7 separate regions of the Homo sapiens genome follow, and all the other regions are linked to region 2. Evidence: promoter capture Hi-C in human tissues and cell types (Jung and others, 2019). All regions are on one chromosome and are shown on one strand. Each heading gives the region's core, a stretch centred on a gene start or on the middle of the fragment in contact. The rest is flanking DNA. Distances are from core to core; before and after follow the strand shown.

The links. Contacts are between HindIII fragments. The study calls those that stand out against the background at their distance.
Region 1: a contact is called between a fragment that was not itself captured here and the fragment with the promoter of SULF2 in region 2, in 8 of the 25 tissues and cell types used here (H1 embryonic stem cells, dorsolateral prefrontal cortex, heart left ventricle and 5 more).
Region 3: a contact is called between a fragment that was not itself captured here and the fragment with the promoter of SULF2 in region 2, in 6 of the 25 tissues and cell types used here (H1 embryonic stem cells, heart left ventricle, liver and 3 more).
Region 4: a contact is called between a fragment that was not itself captured here and the fragment with the promoter of SULF2 in region 2, in 8 of the 25 tissues and cell types used here (H1 embryonic stem cells, bladder, dorsolateral prefrontal cortex and 5 more).
Region 5: a contact is called between a fragment that was not itself captured here and the fragment with the promoter of SULF2 in region 2, in 2 of the 25 tissues and cell types used here (H1 embryonic stem cells and dorsolateral prefrontal cortex).
Region 6: a fragment that was not itself captured here is called in contact with the fragment with the promoter of SULF2 in region 2 in 7 of the 25 tissues and cell types used here (bladder, dorsolateral prefrontal cortex, heart right ventricle and 4 more).
Region 7: a fragment that was not itself captured here is called in contact with the fragment with the promoter of SULF2 in region 2 in 8 of the 25 tissues and cell types used here (H1 embryonic stem cells, adrenal gland, dorsolateral prefrontal cortex and 5 more).

The regions. Positions count from the first base shown.
Region 1 is chr20:48,104,469-48,107,413 of GRCh38, reverse strand. No RefSeq gene overlaps it. Among named protein-coding and RNA genes, the nearest start is that of LINC01522, 120 kb to the right of the region's middle. The HindIII fragment of the contact is 5,044 bases long and covers 1-2,945 here.
Region 2 is chr20:47,783,750-47,786,730 of GRCh38, reverse strand. SULF2 (sulfatase 2) reads left to right here and starts at 1,250. Exons shown (of 21, transcript NM_001387048.1): 1 at 1,250-1,388. LOC124904920 (a long non-coding RNA gene) reads right to left here and starts at 977. Exons shown (of 2, transcript XR_007067618.1): 1 at 569-977; 2 at 1-326. RefSeq lists an enhancer at 1-132. The HindIII fragment of the contact is 5,454 bases long and covers 1-2,878 here.
Region 3 is chr20:48,143,280-48,146,257 of GRCh38, reverse strand. No RefSeq gene overlaps it. Among named protein-coding and RNA genes, the nearest start is that of LINC01522, 150 kb to the right of the region's middle. The HindIII fragment of the contact is 6,424 bases long and covers 1-2,978 here.
Region 4 is chr20:48,257,765-48,260,860 of GRCh38, reverse strand. No RefSeq gene overlaps it. Among named protein-coding and RNA genes, the nearest start is that of LINC00494, 100 kb to the left of the region's middle. RefSeq lists an enhancer at 276-776. The HindIII fragment of the contact is 6,360 bases long and covers 1-3,096 here.
Region 5 is chr20:48,126,807-48,129,664 of GRCh38, reverse strand. It overlaps LOC105372640 (a long non-coding RNA gene), which reads right to left. Exons shown (of 2, transcript XR_936803.2): 2 at 2,851-2,858. Among named protein-coding and RNA genes, the nearest start is that of LINC01522, 140 kb to the right of the region's middle. RefSeq lists an enhancer at 2,806-2,858. The HindIII fragment of the contact is 6,415 bases long and covers 1-2,858 here.
Region 6 is chr20:48,235,655-48,238,382 of GRCh38, reverse strand. No RefSeq gene overlaps it. Among named protein-coding and RNA genes, the nearest start is that of LINC00494, 120 kb to the left of the region's middle. The HindIII fragment of the contact is 4,304 bases long and covers 1-2,728 here.
Region 7 is chr20:48,219,293-48,222,236 of GRCh38, reverse strand. No RefSeq gene overlaps it. Among named protein-coding and RNA genes, the nearest start is that of LINC00494, 140 kb to the left of the region's middle. The HindIII fragment of the contact is 4,439 bases long and covers 1-2,944 here.

The sequences.
Region 1 (2,945 bases), core at 67-2,566, 320 kb before region 2:
TGGTCCCCTTAACTGGATGCCACATTTGCCCAGGACCTTACGTAAGACAGAGACAACTTCCATTGTCTGTGACAGAGAATGAAACCAATGGGCTGATGACCCAAGAGAGTAGAAACCTGGCCACCACATTGCCCAGCTCTGTGACCCAGGCAGCTTATTCACTTCCTTTGTGCCTCAGTGGCCTAATTTGTCAAGTGGTGATGACACTAATAATTCTACTTCCAGGTTTCTCTAAAGATGCAGTGAGATGATGGCTGGGGAGCTCCTCTATCTGCGCCTGGCAGGTTGTGAGCACCTTAAAAGGACTGGCTTTCATCGTCACTTCCAGGGATGACATGGCCGCGCCACTTCCAGCAATTCTGGACCTTGCCCTGTGGAGCCTGAACAAGCACTTTGTAGGATGCACTGCACGGATACCAAAGAGGAGCATCTATGTCCTCCTGGAAATTTGAGTCTGGCTGGAGAGACAAAAGACGGGAATTCTCAATCAGGGAGAATTGAGCAGGGGAGTGAGAAGGGTTCGCTGCAGATGGGTGGAGAGCAATCAGCAAATTCCAGGACTAGAGGAGCACGGGTTGCATAAAGCTTCTATTGCTGCTGTCACAAATCACCACTAACTTTGTGGTTTAAACAACATCAAGGTATTACCTCATAATTCTGGGGTTCAGAAGTCTGAGATGGGCCTCACTGGGCTAAAATGGAAGGGTTAGCAGGGCTGCATTCCTTCCAGAGGCTCTAAGGAAGAATGTGTTTCCCTGCCTAGCTCAGCTTCTAGGAGCCACCCACATTCCTTGGCTCATGGCCCCCTCCCTCCATATGTCAGTCATGTCAGGACAAGTTCTTCTCATGGTGCCAGCTCTCTGGTGCTACCTCCCTTATCTATTTATAAGGACTCTCGTGATTACCTCGGTCCCACCCAGATAATCCACAATCATCTCCCTATTTTAAAGCTAGCTGATACACCACCTGAATTCCATCTACAACGTTACCTCCTGTTTGCCATGTAACCTGGAATATCCACAGGTTCCAAGGATACAGATGAGACCGTCTTGTGGGGCAGTTATTATTCTGTTTACCATGGAGGTCATTGAAACTGAATAGCCTCTTCCATCCTGCAGTGTGAACGCTGAGGCCCTGGAAGAGGCAAGGAATTGCCTGCGGTGCTATCGCTGGTCATTGATGGTGATTAGATCCCTGCCCCCCAACAAACCCTGTCTCCCAGGCCAGGGCTTTTCAGTTCCAGAAAATGTTGTGTAATATATTTTGCAGTTGAGGTATTTAGAGGGAGGTTCTCCATGAGAGGCAGTGTCATGACTGCTGTGGAAAGTACCTGGTGCGTTTTCTCAAGCTGCTCGGCCTGGAGTCTCTCCTTTTAGTAATAAAGGGTAAAATTAAACCCAGTGACTTTCTCTGTTGCTGGAAGTCACATCAAGTTCAGCAGGAATCGTTGCAGAAGCACCCTTCGCAAATCACAGATTCATTACTAAACATATTTCAAAATAAATGTCCGTTTTCCAGCCCTAGAATAGAAAATCAATACCACAGTCGTGCTCAGGCAGATGGCTGATTTAGGAGCTGACTTCGTCACATTCCCTCATCAAAAAGGTCACTCAGGAACCTCCATCATAAGCACACCCCCTCTCCAACACAAGCCGGAGAGGGATGAGAAGGCGGTAATTTATACATGTAATTATTCTCATGCGGTGAACAGATGGGAGATTTTCTCCAGGGAACATGGTGTACAACATCCCATTTCTCATGGGGGCAGTGTGGACAGTTCCAATTAGCCAACTTCCCTCGAACCGGCTCCCAGCAGAACTCAGAGGAGGGAAAGGAAAGAGAAAAATGATCAAGGCTTGCATTAGCTTCTGTCGTAGCGCGGTGCCTATTTGAAAGCTTAATGTTCTCGCCACAGTCAGAAGCAATGTTCTTGGGTTTTTAGAGTCAAAAAGAATCTGCAAATTGTGCTCATGTCAACTACAGTCCACAATGGCCTGGCCTGTCCTCTGCTAGGAGGCAATTGTGATGGGCCCTTGACAGGCTTCTCGACCTTGTAGTGGGAGCACAGGCATCAGTTCTGACCTTGAGGACTGTACGGTATAACTGGGAGAGATGAGTTATCTCCCTCCCAGTTAACAGGAGAACTTTCCATGAGCATTCAGTGACCACTTACTCAGGCTACCTGGGGCTTCCATGGGAGCACGGTGTAGAGGAGAGGGCAGGCAAGTGGAACAAACCCAGATTCACATTCCTGCTGAGTCTCATAGTTAACCATGACCTTGGCAAGTCAGTACTGCCCTCTGAGCCTCAATTTCCCTGACCTACCAAGATACTCTGTCTGCAGCACCATGGCAGGGTTTCGAGCTGAAATAGGTAAATCATTTCATTAGATTCTTTTCTTCTCTTCCTTTTTCACTTTAGTTTCTCAGAAGGGGACAGGCAGCCTATGCCCTAGGGATAAAGAGGGAAGGATGCAGTGGTGTGCAGTGTGAGTTGATCCTTAAAGAAAGGTGTGGCAGACACTGCTAGTTGCCCAGTATCCTCTTCTTTCTTCTAACCAAAGGACTCTGGCTTTGTTCGAGGTGGCAAAGTGCCCAGCTAAGGCATTCACTTTCCCAGCCTCCCTTGCAGCTAACAGTGGTCACATGGCCCAGTTCCAGCTAATAAGATGTAAATAGAAAGCTGCAGGAGGGTTCCTGAGAATGCCTTCCTACCCCAACTCCCTTCTCTCTCTTTCCTGCCTGGAGGTGAAGCAGCCATTTTAGAACTAGACAGCAGTGCACCTGTGGGTGAAAACCAGTGCACTGAGGATAAAGAGCACTAAGACAGAAAGTCCCAGGCCCCTGATACATCAATGACTGACACAGCACTGGCTCAGGACTGCTTGTCTCTGGGTTTCTTTATTTAAACCACCTTTGGTTGGATTTCCTGTTACTTGCAACTAA
Region 2 (2,981 bases), core at 1-2,500:
CTCCGGCCTCTTCTGTGGCGCGAGGGACAGCGGAAACCACGGTAGACAGCACCCCCTTGAGTCCAATTCCTCCCCTTTCGGAGGAAGCCGGTTTCTCCTTTCTATGCTACTCCCGGGCCATTTCTGGACAACAGCTGCTATTTTCACTTGAGCCGAAGTTAATTTCTCGGGGAGTTCTCGGGCGCGCACAGGCAGCTCGGTTTGCCCTGCGATTGAGCTGCGGGTCGCGGCCGGCGCCGGCCTCTCCAATGGCAAATGTGTGTGGCTGGAGGCGAGCGCGAGGCTTTCGGCAAAGGCAGTCGAGTGTTTGCAGACCGGGGCGAGTCCTGTGAAAGCAGATAAAAGAAAACATTTATTAACGTGTCATTACGAGGGGAGCGCCCGGCCGGGGCTGTCGCACTCCCCGCGGAACATTTGGCTCCCTCCAGCTCCGAGAGAGGAGAAGAAGAAAGCGGAAAAGAGGCAGATTCACGTCGTTTCCAGCCAAGTGGACCTGATCGATGGCCCTCCTGAATTTATCACGATATTTGATTTATTAGCGATGCCCCCTGGTTTGTGTGTTACGCACACACACGTGCACACAAGGCTCTGGCTCGCTTCCCTCCCTCGTTTCCAGCTCCTGGGCGAATCCCACATCTGTTTCAACTCTCCGCCGAGGGCGAGCAGGAGCGAGAGTGTGTCGAGTGAGTGTGCGTCTGTGTGTCCCGGCGAGGGTGCGCGCTCGGCGCCGGGAGCGCGGCCAGCCGAGTCCGGAGGCATCGGGAGGTCGAGAGCCGCCGGGACCCCAGCTCTGCGTTCACTGCCCCGTCCGGAGCTGGACTTCGGGGCCGGGGCCGGGGCCGTGCGCCGGGGACAGGCAGGGCCGGGTCGCGGGCCGCGCGTCCCCCAGGCCGGAGGTAAAAGCGCTAGCGCGCGGAGGGCTCGAGGAGGGCACCGCGGCTGGGCCCCCCGCGCCCCGGGCCCCAGCCGTCCGCGGCTCCCGGCCCGACGCTCCCCGCCCCGGAGCGCGCCCGCCTCCCCTGCGTGGAGGCCGGCGGGCAGGCGAGCGGGGGGCGGTAGCGCCGTGCCAAGGGGCTGGCTGGGGCAGCGTGGCCGGCCGGGCTGGGGCGATTTAAGAGCGGTCCGGGCGGGGTGCGGAGCCGGACTTTGGCTGGGGCGGCGCGCGGGGAGGGGGCCGGGGGCGGTGGCGGCGGCGTTGGGGGGCGGGGAGGAGGCAGGAGGAGGAGCAGCAGCGCTCGCCGGGGGATGCAGCAGCGGCAGCGGCGGCGGCGGCGGCGGCAGCGGCAGCGGCGGCGCGGAGTCCCCTGCGCCCAGCGGCCCGGCCGGGCTGCGGCAGAGGCGGCGGCGGCGCCCCGCTCCGGGTGAGGTTGCCGGGGCCGTGCGCGCTGGTGAGTGGGGCGTGGGGGGCAGGTGGGTGGCTGGGGGACGCGGGGCTCGGGCGGGGGCTCGCGGCGGCCGGAGCCTTCCCCGGCGTGAGCCCGGCCGCGAGCGCCGCCCAGGTGAGCCGGGGCTGGTCCGGACCGCCCGGCTCCAGCCCCAGCGCTGCTTGCGGAGGTGGGTCCGGGCGGGCGGGAGGGAGGCTCCGGCGCCGGCCGTCCGCAGAGGGATGACCTGTTTGACCCCGCTGGCTGGCGGGCGGGCGAGGACTTCCCGCCGCGCCCCTGACCCGCGGACACGGCACACCGAGCACAGGCGGCCCCGGGTAGGGGAGCGCGCCTGGGCCGGCCATCCGCAGGGGCATGGCCTTGTTGACCCTTAGGGTTTAGACCCAAGGGACCGGTAGATGCCAGCCCACGTGGGGCTTGTCCGGGCAGGACTCGGGGAAGCAGTGGGCCGGATCTTCAGAGTGGTTGGAAACTCGCAGACACCGAAAGGACAAACAGGATCGAAAAGGCAGACTTCCTCCCAGGCCAGGGCAGAACGAGTTTCCATCGCCTGGCGGAGGGATGCTCCCCTCCCCGGCTCCTCGGGGTTTCAGAAGTCTAGCGGTGAATTCTAGGAGTGCACTTTTCCAAACATTCCTTATAGTAGTTCGTTCATTCGTTCTACAAGCATTTCTGGAGCACCCCCTCGTGCCGGGCACCGCGTTCTGTTCCAGGGAAACGCGGCTGAACAGGATCTGGCTCCTGCGCGCCAGAAGCTGCCGGTTCACTGGGAGGGCAGCAGGGTAGAGAGATGCCGTCTCGGGGTGGAAGATGGAAAGGGAAGCCTGCAATCCTAGTTTGCACACTGGCCTCGGTCCGCAACTCCCCCACCTGCACGCAGTAGGCCCAGCACACAGTAGGAAGAGCAAGCCAGACCTGCCTGTGACGACCCTCTCCTCCTCCTCCTCCCCCTTGAAAGCTTTGATTCATTCCCTGCCCCCCTTTCTGGAAAGTCTTCCTGCAGCTTGTTTTAATCACTTTTTGAGTTAAAAGTCAATATTTAATTAACCAAGTAATTACATTCAGCTTACGTTTCAATCTGGGTATTTGCTCATCTGTGCGTGTTGGGACACCCGCCCTCTCGCCCCTCCATCTGTCCCCTGCCTGTTTCCCACCGGGTCCACCCCCACTTTTGGGGCAGAGAAGGGGAGGCTGCGCTGGAGCAGGTTCTCAGGGGGAGACAGGGAGCAGGAGAGACGGGCTTTCTCTGGAGGACACCCCCGGATCTGCGCGCTCTCCAAATTTCAGCTTGTAGTGAATAGTGAAGGTGATTTCTTGACAGCCTCTGCCTCCCATTACAGAACCACCAGAGGGTTCTAATTAAATTAGAGCCAATCGTTAAGTATAGGAACGGGGTAGGGAGGACAGAACGAAGGGGGCCCCTTCCCTGTAAGAGATGTTCTCCCCAGCTTCGTCTCTCCCACATCATAGAGAAGAGAAAACTCATCCAGACAGCCTGTCGGATGTGTAATTTAGCGTTCTAATAAGCAGCTTGAAAGGCGAAGGTGGTGGGCTTGGCAGATGGCATGTTGGACCTTTGTACATGAAGGCCTCTTC
Region 3 (2,978 bases), core at 22-2,521, 360 kb before region 2:
GCTAGCACCTTCTGGGCTCTTCATTACATGCCAGGAAATACGCCAAGCCTCTTACCTGCTTTTCTCACCTCAGTCCTGGGAGGCAGGTGCAAGGGTCTTCACTGCTTTCTAGATGAAGAAACTGAGACACAGAGAGGCCCAGTAACTTGCTCAAGACCACAGATTAGTGAGTGGCACAGTCAAAATTACTCTTAAAAATTCCCTTAAGTACTCATAAGGTCCAGTATATATGGTCGAGTGAGCTGACTTTAAAACTTTATTCAACTCTAATGCGTAGCATGAAATGTATCTTTCACTGTGATCCGGTACACACTCGTGCATAGACACACGCACATGTGGACAGACACACACACGTGATGGAATTGACAAGCCTCTTAAAGCAATATTTATTTTATGATGTGTAAAATATCCTATTGTCTTCTCCCCTATTCCGTCCTGTTGGGAAAAATTCTGACCCACTGATTTTGTTTCTTAACCTATTAACAGCTCACAACCCTCTGATGGTGTGATGGTTAATAAGTGTTAACTCGATTGGATTGAAGGATGCAAAATATTGTTCCTGGGTGTGTCTGTGAGGATGTTGCCAAAGGAGATTAACATTTGAGGCAGTGGACTGGGAGAGGCAGACCCACCCTCAATCTGGGTGGGCACCATCTAATCAGCTGCCAGCACGGCTAGAATAAAAGCAGGCAGAGGAGCATGGAAGGAGTAGACTGGCAGAGTGTTCTGGCCTCCACCTTTCTGCTGTGCTAGATGCTTCCTGCCCTCGAACATCAGACTCCAAGTTCTTCAGCTTTTGGACTCTTGAACTTATACCAGTGGTTTGCCAGGGACTCTCGGGCCACAGACTGAAGGCTGCACTGTTGGCTCCCCTACTTTTGAGCTTTTGGGACTCAGACTGGCTTCCTTGTCCCTCAGCTTGCAGATGGCCTATTGTGGGACTTCACCTTGCGCTCTTGTGAATCAATTCTCCCGATAAACTCCCCTTCATACATACATATATCCTAATAGTTCTGTCCCTTTAGGGAACCCTGACTAATAGAGATAGGTTGTGATAGAGTTTGAAGATCACTAGTGTGAAGCACACCACACAAACACATAGAGAAGATGCTGTACATTTCCCTAAACTTTTGTAAGTAAGATACTAACATTTACCTGGGGCTTATTCAGTGCTAGGCACTTTGGTCAGAACTTTTCAACTGTTAACTTCATTCCCTATGGAATATTAGGTTGAATCATATGAAATTGCCTATGGTTGACAATTTCCTGTGGGGAATAGCAATTTCATATAGCTGAACTTAATATTTATCTTCATGATAATTCCATTTTGTATACACACACACACACACACACACACAAACAAAACAAACAAACAAAACCAGAGAGATTAATTAACCTGCTCAGTGTTGCACAGCACCATGTGAGGTTGCTGCATCTAACTCCCAGGCAGCCTGGCTCCAGCCCATAACCATAGATCCTCCTAACCACTGGGTAGCCAAGGCTCTTTAGCCAATGATTCCTCAAGGACACTGAGGAAGCTTGCAGGGGCCACTTGAATGAGCAGTATCTCCCCCCTGTTTTATGCCTGGGAAGGCCGTTCGAATCATTCTCACATTCTTTCTATAGGTTTTCCAAGCTTTCTGGGCTTTTAGACATCATGGCATTCAGTGCCCAAGGCCTCCCTCTAAGGAGCCCAAAGACTAGCTGAATTCCTGCCCTGTGTCAAGCCCATCTCTGCATCTCATCATCCCCCTCAATGTGAGGTGGAATTTGTTGGTGAGTTAAATGCAGTGTGGCACAGATTACCCACTGTTTCCTCCCAGGACGCATACCTGGGATGCATTTGCTGACCATCAGTTTAAAAACGTAGTCAGAGACGTAGTCAGGGGCCCACTGAAAGGTCAAATGACAGTCTGGACTAGAAGTATTTTTTTTCATATCTAATAACTTAATGAAAAGCAATGAGTTGGAAGAGGTGTTAGAGTCCCCATCGTCCAACTGCCCCGCTAGCCCTGACATCTGCAATTCTGCATCAGAACGTCCCTGACATTTGATGAGCTGCCCTTGTCATAAAACCATCTAGTTACTGTGCCTTTGGATCTAGGGCATCATCCATCTGCTTCTGGAAATTTCAATTACGTTATGTAAGCCGTGAGGTGCTTGCTTACAATTTATTCACCTTTCCAGAATTTTCATTTCCTCTTACCCATGATGGGCCCGCAGGTTCCAGCCAACCAGTTGCCACCCTGCTCTGCTCTGGAGACATGGCATCAGCAGCCTCCATCTCTTTGAAAAACGGTAGGGTAGCACCTGATGTTGGCTCGGGATCTAAAATTACTAATCAAGGCCAACATCAGATGTAGAAACAGCTGAAGATGTTCATACCCCAGGATCATCCTCAATATGGCTAAATGAACATATTTGAGTGGCCCTTGGCAACGGAGACACAATGACAGAATCGCAGCTCCATCTGCCACCACCCCCTCCCACCGGCAGGTGCCCAAAGAGGGGCATGCCCTGGCTGGATTATTTACATACATTTACATATTCTATGTTTCATTATTAGCATACATTTACTATCCTTTTTGTTATAAAACTAAAGATAATCTTCCCACGTTTTATTTTCTGTCAAGTGTATTCCGTTGTATTTACGTCTGATGCAACTCCACTGTAATCCTAACAATAAAGCTATCTGCTCTTGAGGGCACTCTGAGAGGTTTGAAAGAGCACTAGCTGACAATGAAAAGCCTGCCTGCTGGAGCCATCTCTTTCATTTACTGACTCTGTGACTTTGGAGAAGTCATCTAATATTTCCGAGCCATAGGTCCTCTTTTTTCTAGACTAGTGGTTCTCAACTGGGGGTAATTTTACTCTTAGAGGACATTTGGCAATGTCTGGACACATCTTTTTGGCTTGTCACAATTGAGAAGGGGAGGGTGCTACTGGCATCTAGTGGGTAGAGGCCAGGGATGCCGACA
Region 4 (3,096 bases), core at 491-2,990, 470 kb before region 2:
GTAGATGGAACCAGGGGGTGTTCTGCACAAAAGGGCTGCCAAGGAATTTGCAGGCTGAAGAAGCGAGGTGTGGAAGCATCAAGAGAATGGTCCCCTTGAGGTTAAATCAACAATAAGGAGAGAGTTGGGGTGGCGTGAGGAGCTTGAAAGGCTTGATTGTGCAGCCAGGATGATCGCACAAGATGATGTCATGGGTGACGAAGGACACGGGAGGAGAAAGGCTGTGGGTGGAGGTGGCAGGGACTGGAGCATTGGGAGGCCGTGGGGGTCCTGAGGATTCTGCTGAGCCCCATCCAGGCCCGGCTGAGTCATGGCTGAGTGACTTCCCAGGCTGGGGACATCTGAGGCTCTAAAGGTCCTAAGTCTCCCAGGCAGACACCGAGCTCTGGAATGGGGCCAGCCATCCCCAGCTGCCTAGAAGGACCTGGAAAACAGGCTGAGGCCTTGAATACAGAGGACCAGGGAGTTTGCTGGGAATTATGGGGAGGAAACACGGCTCAGGGAGTTTTACAGATCCTCTGACATCATGGGTGTCTGAGCTGGTGAGTTAAGACCAGCCTACAACACATGACCCACAGCTCCTGCCTACAGTGAACACACACACACGCGCACACGTGCTCATCGGAACACACATGTGCATAATACTACTGTGTAGTCATTTGTTCATTTGTTCTGCAAGCATTTCTGGAGCACCTCCTCGTGCCGGGTACTGCATTCTGTTCCAAGGAAACGTGGATGAACAGGACCCGGTTCCTAGGCACCAGCAGCTCCTGGTACTCTCAGACAACTGGGAAAAGAGATGGGGTCTGAAGTGGAAAGATATAAGAAGTCTGAAATCCTACTTTGCATGTTGGCCTCAGTCCAAAATTCCTCACCTGCTCAGAGACCAAAGACCACACCCCCTGCATGCAGTAGGCCCAGTACACAGTAGGAAGAGCAAGCCAGACCTGCCTGTGACAACCCTCTCTTCCTCCTCCCTCTTCTTGAAAGCTTTGATTCATTCCCTGCCCCGCTTCTGGACAGTCTTTCTGCAGCTTGTTTTAATCACTTTTTGAGTTAAAAGTCAGTATTTAATTAACCAAGTAATTACATTCAGCTTACGTTTCAATCTGGTGCAGGTTTGCTCCTCTGTGCAGGTTGGGACCCCTGCCCTCTTGCCCCTCCATCTGTCCCCTGTCTCTTTCCCACAGGGCCCACCCTCACCTTTGGGGCAGAGACTGGGAGGCTGTGCTGGAGCAGGTTCTCGGCGGGAGACAGGAAGCAGGTGAGACGGGCTTCCCTTGGAGACGCCCCTGTATTTCACTGGGTAGTAAAGGGGATTTCTTACTGCACCTCTGCCTCCCATTACAGAAACCCCAAAAGGTTCTAGTTAGATTAAAGCTAATCATTAAGTGGCAAAGGGGGTGAGGAAGACAGGATGAAGACATTTCACCCTGTAGAAGATGTTCTCCCCACTTTGCTTGTCCCATGTCATACAGAAGAGGAAACTCAACCTGACAGCCTGTCAGGCGTGTAGTCTAGAGTTCTAATAAGAAACTTGAAAGGTGAAGGTGGTGGGCTTGACCGATGGCACGTGGGACATTTGCACATTAAGGTCCCTTCCTTCCCTGGCCAAGTTTATGTACATAAAGTCATGATGTTGGCACCACTGCTGCACCTGAGATTTGGGTGGATAAGACTGTGAGTAGATGCACACACAAACACATACACACATTTTATTTGAACTTGAGACTTTTTCTGAAACTCTAATAACCTACTAAGTTTCCAAATGTATTGACTGATCCATGAATTGACTGTAAAATGCCCAGCTTGGAGGAGCACAAAGCGTCCATATGTGTGTCCTGTGTGTGTGCATTTGTGTGCACATCTGTGAGTCTATCTGCCCAGGATACAACTCACATTCAACCATCATCCCAAGGACCTGGTTAATGCGCAGCTGCAATTGCCAACCCAAAGGGATACCCATGATGCTTGGAATCTATCTGTTGATCCACTTATCGTTTGTAGGGCATTTTTGAAAATTATCCAAATAATATTACCCCATTCCATGTCCTTTTGTTTGAAGGCACCAGGAACGGCTGCTGTTGGGTGGGGAGTTTGTACCCAGTGTTAAGTGCCAAACATCCTGGAACGTTTCCCAAAGGATGGGGCAGGGGCCACTGATAAACAGAAGGATTAGAGAATCGGCTCCATGATTAAGGTAGTTCACATGAAATACCACCAAATCAGGCACTAAAAAGTTATCCCCTTTTCCACTTTCTGCCAGCCCTCCCAGAACCTCAGATAGAAAGATCCAGGTTGGGCCAGGCTTAGTGGCTCACTCTTGTAATCCCAGCAATTTGGGAGTCCGATCACCTGAGGTCAGGAGTTCTAGACCAGTCTGGCCAACATGGTAAAACCCCATCTCTACTAAAATACAAAAATTAGCCAGGCTTAGCGGTGTGTGCCTGTAATCCCAGCTACTCAGGAGGCTGAGGCAGGAGAATCACTTGAACCTGGGAGGTAGAGGTTGCAGTGAGCCAAGATGGCACCACTGCACTCCAGCTTGGGTGACAAAGCAAGACTCCGTCTCAAAAAAAAAGGTAAAAATGAAAGTTCCAGGTTGGTGCAAATAGGTCTTCACAGTGGCCTGAAAAGAGAGAGATGGAGAAACAGAGACAGAGAGAGAAGATGGGGCCAGGGGTAGTTTAAAAGGAATATTTTGTGGTTGGAAATTAGCAATATTGTTTTGTTTTGGCTTTTTAAATTTTTTTTTTTACTGTGAAATAACTTAGATCCACAGAGAGTGGCAAGGAACTGTTTAAGGAGGTCCTATGTACCCTTCACCCAGCCTCCCCCAATCATCACATCTTGCATCACTAAAGTACAATATGACAAGCTGGAAATTGACATAGGTGCAATCCACAGAGCTTATGTAGATTTCACCAGTTATGCAATTTTATCACATATGCGGTTTTGAGTAACCACCACCATAGTCAAGCTACAGAACTGTCCCGTCACTTCAAGGGTCCCTCTGCCTCCCTCTAGGACCACACTAGCCAGTCCCTAACCCCCTGCAACCTCTAACTGATCTCCATCTCTAGAATTTTTTAAATT
Region 5 (2,858 bases), core at 139-2,638, 340 kb before region 2:
AAGCTATTGGGGAACAGTTGTAAAGTTGTAAAGTTAGATCATGATGTTAAAGCCCACCCACCTAAGACTGCCAGGAACTTCCCTGCAGTCACAGTCAGTTTATTTAGCTTGCTGCAGTCAGGGAGATTCCCACGCCCATGGCCACCTGGGGGCATCTCAGTAAGGGGGAAGGGGCAGTGCTTTTTAGAGGACCTAGGCTTCTACAGAATGGTTCCAAAAAGGGATTAAGGAGGCAAGGTCAAGAAGTGAGGGCAACTTGGTGATTGCGTATCTTAAATACTTTATCTCAGGAGTGGGAAGCTTGAAGCAGGCTAGAGTTGTCACTGGTAAAGAGGCAGCTGTCACTCATGTTAGAAAAGGGGCATGTTCAGTCATTTCTGTGGCTGCAGAGTGGTCTTATCCCTGCCTACCTCTAAACACAGTCAACTTGTGGCCTTGTCTGAACGAGTTCATATTCTTTGAGTGTGGTTCATGTCGACTCAGGAGCATCATGGCCTGGAGGGTTGTGTTTCTCAGTTCCCTCCATAGTCTAGATGCAAACAGGACTGTTTTTTTTTTTTTTCTCCCTTACCAATGATCATATTATGGAAGGCCTTGGTTTTCACCCTGAGAAGGTTTGTATATAACTTGGCAGATGAGACAGAGTTATCAAAGATAGTTGGGTGCTGGAGTAATCAAGTTAGAATTGTACTTGAGAGATCAGGTATCTGTCAGTCTTTTGAAAGAGAAAGGACAGGAGGTAGGGTATTAAGGGCAATTATGGTCCAGGCTAGAGAAGGTGCAATGCCAATGAAGGTACCAGGCATAGGAAGAAAACAAGCTGACCAATAGAGGAGGCATCTGAGGGAGGGAACAACAGGCTGTCCCCTGGATTGGATGCTGGCGGTGGAAGAAGATAAAGTAGGAGGTGCTGATGTTTGCTCACCCAACAGCTGTCCCCACCCTACTTGCTAACAGGATTTTTTTCTAGGCAAAATGGAAATGGATCACAATTGGTCAAAACCAGCCTTGGCTATGCCAGTCACCTTTGCCAGATACTTCCCAGCTCCCTTTACAGTGAGGACTTCCCTATGACTCATTCTGGCCCAAAAGACCGAAGAGGATTGTGACAGGTCTCCTAAGAAAGGTTTTCATTTCTTATAAAAATAACAGGTGTAAAGAGGGTGTTCCTTTGAATTGCCCCTATTTCGTTGTTTTGGCTTTGATCCTAAACTGGAAGCATTGAAGCCAAGCCTTTGATTAGCTCCCATTTTCTACAATAGGAAATTGGAATACGTAATGCCCAGATCTGCACCCCACCCCCCAGTCTTTTCCTAAAAACACTGGTATTTTCTTTCCTAAAAACACTGGTATTTTCTTTTCCTATCTTTTGAGATGGAGGTATTGCTCGTGTCTGGGTGAATTGCTTATGCCAATGAGATGTTCGTAGACACGGCACAGGCAGAAGCCTGGAATGTGTCGGCACTGCCAGGCCTGCCCTCTAATGCTCTTGATTTTTCCCACGAGACGAGCGTGCCCCAGGGAACTTTGGCTCCAGCTGCAGGATGAGAGGCATGTGGAGCACGCAGGGTTCCAACCCTCAGCCTGGAGTCAAGCCCAGACTAGATCAGCCTAAGCCCAGCCAAGCCACGGGTGCAGGAGTGAAAAGCAAATGCTAACTGTCCATGACATTGACTTTCAAAGGGGCGTGTCATGTTATGTGGCTCATCCCAGCAACAATGAAGATATTTCTCTATCAGTCAGTCGGTAAATAATTATTGACAATGTGCAAGGAAGCTGGAGTGATTGGAGTAGATTTGGTCACTATTCTTATGGAGCTTATTTTCTAGAGGGGAAGACATATGATGGATCAATAAATATAAATTATTCTATTAGGTTGGTGCAGCAGTAATTCCAGCACTTTTTTGCCAGTAAAGGTAATGGCAATCAAAAGTGGGGAGGAGCCGGCGCTGCAGTTCATTGAAAGTAATGACAAAAACTGCGATGACTTCTGCACCAACCTAATAGAATAAATTACGAGTGCGCAAAACGCTGTGATGGGAAAGTTCCAAGTGCCAGGACAGCATCTAGCTTCCTGGACTCAGGAGATGGGGGTTTTCAACCTAAGCAAGGTTAAGTCCAAGTGGTGGGGGCAGGCGGGGGGGCGATATTTCAGTGGAGACTCCAAGGATGAATGGAAATTAGAAAAGTGAACGCAGATGGTGAGGGGGGAGGGGTTTCAGGCACAGAGAACAGCATGTGCAAAGGCCTAGCGGGGAGGACATCGTGTGTTCTGGATGTCCTCCCCGCTGAGGGGCGGGGACTGAGGGGCAGCCAGCAGGCTGGAGCTGAGCGGGTGGAGAGGAGGATGGGGAGCCGGGCAAAGGCGCTCCACGCAGGGGGCACAGCAGGGGCAAAGGCCCGGAGTCAGGCCTGAGCCTGTGTGGTTTCAGGAAGTGACAGAGGCCTGTCTGGGAGGAAAGTAACAGCAGAGGGGAGACCATAAGGTCAGGGCAGAGGGCAGGGCCGTGCTGGGCACTGTGGGCTGTGGATAGGACCTGGCATTTATGCTCGGGTGAGGGGAACATGTTAGAAGATTTTAAGGAGGGCAGGAACATCTGGGGATAACGTGTATTCTAGAATCTCAACCAAGTAAATTCTAGTTTGAATGTTCACAAGACTTCTGCACAGGCAAAGTGAAAGATCGTTTCTAGAGCTGTGAGATAAAATCATAGTAAAAGAGAGTTACTAAGTTTTTAAAGGTTATTTCAAATGGTGGATTTCCACCTTACAATTGAATATAAGTAGATTGTAAGGTTGATGGAAAGTAGAAAAGTTTCCTGACTTGTGTGAATATAAAAGAAACATCAGTTTGAAAG
Region 6 (2,728 bases), core at 46-2,545, 450 kb before region 2:
CCCTCTCTGACTCGTCCCCCAATATTCTTCATTACATGAGTAATACAGTTGTTCTTTAAAGATTTAAATAACACAAAGCGCTTCATTCCCCACCCACCGCTAACACAGGCCAGTATCATGCTCAGGTTCTTCTGCATCCTCTGAGAACATTTTCCCCTCATTTACTCAATGACGCATAGATATTAGACATATATATGCATATTGAGAAAAAGCATAGGGTAAACTGAGTCATTACGCAGCAACAGGGTGCTCTTTAGAAGGTGGCACCAGAGAGGGCCTCTTGGAGGAGGTGACATCTGCAGAGCCTGGAGTGAGAGGATGAGCCAGGCAGATATCTGGGGAAGAGCAGCCTTGGCAGAGGGACCCGCAAGTGCAAAGACCCTGAGGCAGGAGGGTTCTCAAGGGGCTGGGGGAGCAGCACAGAGGCCCATGTGGCTGCAGCAGGGGAGTGAGGTGGGGAGTGGCAGGGGTGGAGGTTGAAGAGAGGATGAGGGGTCAGGCCATGGAGGGCCTTGCAGGCCATGGGGAAGACTTTGGCTTTTATTTTGCATGAGAGGGTGGGTCCCTAGAGGACTCTGAGTGATGGAATGTGATGAGCTGACTTGGGCTGAAAGGCCCACCCTGGCTCTGAATGGAGAACACAGGGTGGTGGCCGAGGGTGAAGCTGGAAGACCAGTTAGGAGACTACAATAGTCCAGGCAAGAGATGGCAATGGTTAGACACAGACTGAAGTCAAGACCCTGCATTTACTGACCCCAGCTTCATTCTTCTCACTGTGCCACCCTTCTTCTATTTCCCAAAGAGTTCCTGAAATCACGTAATCTAATTATTCACCTATAACTAAACCACACACACACACACACACACACACACACACACACACACACACCAGGACATCATCTCCTTCATTATCCACCCCACACGGTGCTCCTGTACTTCTCAGGAGAAGGGAAGCAGGTATTCGGTCAGATGCAGTGTGCGTCTGCTGCTGGCTGATGGATGTAGTCTCTTGCACAGAAGCCTCTGGACTGGAAAACTAAGCTTAACTTTGAATCTTCAAAGTATTAGACACCGTCTAAGTCCCAGGAAACATTGTTTGCTCTGAACTTTGGAATATGGAATTAATTCAGCATTTCCCTGGTGTGTTATGTGTCACACCAATAGTACATGGTACACCAGAGTGCATTATCTATTTCACTATTTCATCTTTAAAGTTTTAAAGAAACACCATATATAACTAATGCATGAAATCTACAATTTCACAGACAATATTGTTTGGTTTGAGGCTAAAATTTTTAAAGTGATCCATTTAAAAATAACATTAGTGAAATAATTGTACAGGTGGTGCAGTGAGATGACCCAAAACAACATTCATGAGGAGTGTGTGCATGGAGGGTGCTTAGGAAATGCTGAGTTTCTGGCAGGTGGTGGGGTGCGGTTTGGGCATTGAAATTTAAGTTCGTTGGGGTGTTCCCCCACTCTCAGCCCATCCCCCCAGCCCATCAGAGTCACAGAGAGAGGTGTTAGGGTGACCTCATCCTTGGCCCAGCTAGGTGGGAAGGTTTGGTCATGGAAAGAAATTGTGTCTGTTTTTTTCCACTTGTCCCCAGGCTAATGTCGGAGAAAACACGTTTTGGTTGGCTGGCTCGGCTGCATTTGAAATATTAAAAAACTGGCTTCTTTCGCCTTTCACAGTGACATCTTCCAGGTTCTCACCTCCCATCAGAGCTCTCTGTCTACATTAGGGCTGGGGCTGTGGGAGGAGATGAGATCATATATTTTTTTGTGTTAAAGATGTTGATGTATAAAGCTTGGTAGTCACAGTGTTTTTAATAAATCAGGTTAATGTTCCAGGGGGAAGCTTACCACTTGCTATTTATGCACAAATGCCTCTATCACTTAAGAAGCTTGTTAAAATGGTAGTTTAAGAGTAAATTAACAAAGCGCTTCACAGCTGGTGTGTTTGGGCAGGGTGAGCACACCTAACAAGGACATACACACAGAGGGGAGCCGACGGCAAGAACACCCAACAGCTAATTGCCTCCAAAATTAGTAGGATGGAAAAGCAAATGCTTCAAGACCCTGGTTCTGAGCAGATTAAAAATAAGAAACAGTTCTGCAGGCTGTTTGCTTTTTGCCAATGCAGCATTTGGGGCTGCTGACTGCAGGTGAATTATTCACCAGGTGGCAGCTTCCCCTGCATTTCTGAAGAGAGGTCTGACAGGTTGAGTGGAGAGCCAGCTTTCATCCTTTTTACTACTGAGACAATTTTTGAAGAAGGAGTGAGGCTGGGTTCTCATTTCCTCTCCTTTGTCTTTCTTCCTCATTGTAAACAGTGTCCTTGCTATGTCCCGGATTCATGCCTGCAACAAGTATTTCTGAGCATTCACCGTAGGCTAGTATCTTAGTCCGCCTGTGCAGCTAGGACAGCATACCACAGACTGGGTAATTTATAAACAATAGAAATGTATTTCTCACAGTTCTGGAGGCTGAGAAGTCCAAGGTCAAGGCACTGCAGCGCTGGTGTCTGCTCAAGGCATCTCTCTGCTTCCAAGATGGTGCCTTGTTGCCGTCTGGCTGGCCCAGAGAGTAGGAACACTGTGTCCTCAATGAAAGACACGAGAATGCCCCCTTCAATTGCGAGCCCTTTTATAAGGGTGCTTATTCCATTCATGAGCGGGGAGCCCTCATGACTTAATCTCCTCCCAAAAGCCACACTGCTTATATT
Region 7 (2,944 bases), core at 397-2,896, 440 kb before region 2:
TTGTCTCAAAAAAAAAAAAAAAAAAGAAATTTAATTGTTATTCTGATAGTATTAAGAGGTGAGACCCTTAAGAAGTGACTAGGTCATGAGGGATTTGCCCTCACAAATGGATTGATGCTGTTATCACAGAAAGGCTGAGTTACTGCCAGAGTCCAGCCCCTTTTTCTCTCTGTCTCATGCGTGTGCTTCCTCACCGTATGATGCCTTCCACCATGTTCTGATGCAGCAGGTAGGCCCCTCACCAGAGGCAGCCCCTCAGTCTTGGACTTCCCAGCCTCCAGAGTGGTGATCTGTGAGCCAAATACATCTCTTTTCTTTTTTCTTTTTTTTCTTCTTGAGACAGGGTCTTGCTCTGTTGCCCAGGCTGGAGTGCAGTGGCATGATCTCGGCTCACTGCAGCCTCAACCTCCTAGGCTCAGGCAATCCTCCCATCTCAGCCTTCCGAGTAGCTCGGACTACAGGCACATGCCACCACACCCAGCTAATTTTTTTTTTTTTTTTTTTTTTTTTGTAGAGAAAGGGTTTTTCCATGTTGCCCAGGTTGGTCTCAAAGTTCTGAGCTCAAGTGATCCACCTGTGTCCGCTCCACAACATGCTGGAACTACAGGTATGAGCTACTGTGCCTGGCCTCTTTTCTATTAAATCACCCAATCTGTAGTATTCTGTAATAACAGCAGAAAACAGATGAAGACAATCCCCAAACGAGGCTCTAAGCTCTTTCTTCACTGCACATAGTAAGCATTTTCTAAACAGGCAATGAATGAATGAGCTCTGCCTCCTGGGCACAGCACCTTGATTGTCCTTTGGGAAACCTCCATCCTCCACTCTTGGTTCATGTGCTGTAGGTGGGTGGGCCCCACACCCAGCTCCATGCAAGGGACAAGATCCAGGTCTGTGAACTGGCATATTCAGAATCACCAGGTACAGACTTATGTCCTGGCACAGGCTGCTTCTCCTGAAAGGAAGGGGCATCCCTTTCTTACTCGTACCAAGTCACCTGAGGGAGTGGCCCTGGCTGTGAGCAAATCCTGCCACCTTGACCCCAGTGTTTAGATCAGAGATGGACACATGGCAAGTCGCGTCCAATCAGGTGAATCCTGCGAAGTCCTCAGGGGCCGCCAGGAAGAGAAGGTCTTTCCCTGGGGCTGCTGAGCTGGTAGGTGGAATCTCTCCACAAGCAAAGGAAGAGGAGACAGCAGCCCTGGAGGGGTGGGAGAAAGTGTCTGGGTCCCTAGATCAAGCTCTACCTGACACTGGACTAACCCTCAAAGCTTTTCAGTTCTTTGAGTCCATTATTCCTTTTCCTTTTTTTTTTTTTTTTTTTTTTTTTGAGATGGAGTCTCACTCTGTAACCCAGGCTGGAGTGCAATGACATGATCTTGGCTCATTGCAGCCCCCACCCCTAGGTTCAAGCGATTCTCCTGCCTTGGCCTCCCGAGTAGCTGGGATTACAGCTGCACACCACCATGCCAAGCTAATTTTTGTATTTTTGGTAGAGACAGGGTTTTGCCACATTGACCAAGCTGGTCTTGAACTCCTAACCTCAAGTGATCCACCCTCCTCGGCCTCCCAAAGCTATCTATTCCCTTTTTGCTTAAGTCTGTTGGGGTTGGATTTTCTGTCCTTGCAACTTTAGGACCCCATCTGACTCAGGGTTCAGGAAATGCTACCCTACAGGACAGCCAGGAGCAAATGTGCTTTACTATGTTTAAACACTTGAGGTCCATGAAGGGCTGCTGGGGCTGCTGTGGGCTCTGACCTCATCACCTCCTTCCTTCGTCCAGGGCTGCTCCCTACAGGAGTCTGTTCCCCTCAGCGCAGCCTCTGCCTCTCCTCGAAGTGGGTTTCAACACTCACAGCTCCTTCCCTCTCACTTGAGTGATTTTCTCCTTTCCCATTTTTCATCTTGAAAAATGGCAAATTGAAGCACTTAATTTTCCTCCTCCAGCCCAATTAATGTGGACATGCTCAGTGCTGATGGGCGTGCTTGTGAAAGGAAAGTCATTTATATAAATCAGCAGAATAAACATGAGCTTTATGGCCCTCTGCAAACTCCAGGTGGAAGCTTCCTCAGAGAAGGAGAAGGGAGACCCCACGGGAAGGCCCAGGGGCAAATACCCCATTGGATGCATCTGGGAAGTCTGGAGTTTAGGGGCCATTAGGACTGTGTCGTGGTGGCATTTTGGAGAGGGCACAGGTCCAACCACCTCTCCTTCCTGTGAGGTCGCTCAGTGAATATGTCCCAGGAACAAGAGAATTACCAGACATGGCTATACCTCAGTGTCAGCAGGGGCTCTGTTCCTAAGCCTTAACGTAGAGTCCATCCAGCCAAGCAGGAATGCCGAGCCTATCTCCAAAGTGTGCCTGAGCCCCCCAGATGCCTCACTGGACAGAGCCCCTCATCCATCTTGGCCTCCTGGATAGTCACAGCAGCTTCATCCGTGGTCTCTGCTGTCCAATCAGGCTTCCCTCCATCCATGCTCATCCCGGCAGCTGAAATGAGCGTTTAAAAATGTAAATCAAATCATGTGATCCTCCTGCTCGGAAATTCTCAATGGCTCCCTATTGCCCTTGGAAGAAAATCCAAGCTCCCTTTCATGGCTTCCAATATCTTGCATAACCTGGCCCCTGGCAGCCTCTCAGACTCTCCCCTGGCTCCCTCAACCACAGGGGCCTCCTTGCTGTTCTTCCAGCTCCCCTTGCTCACTCCTGCCCCGAGACCTAGGCACTCGCTGTTTCCCACATCTTCTTCTGGTGGCTGTGTCTCATCCTTCATGTCTCAGCTCCAACAGCTCCCCTGCACCCAATCCTGGTACCTGTCCTCAGCTGCTGTTTATCTCTTTTAGACCCTTTCAAACCTAAATATGTAGCCAGCACCCACGGTAGACCAGCCCCAGCTCCGTGTGCTCAGTGTCCAGAGTGAGCAGGACACACAATAACCCCT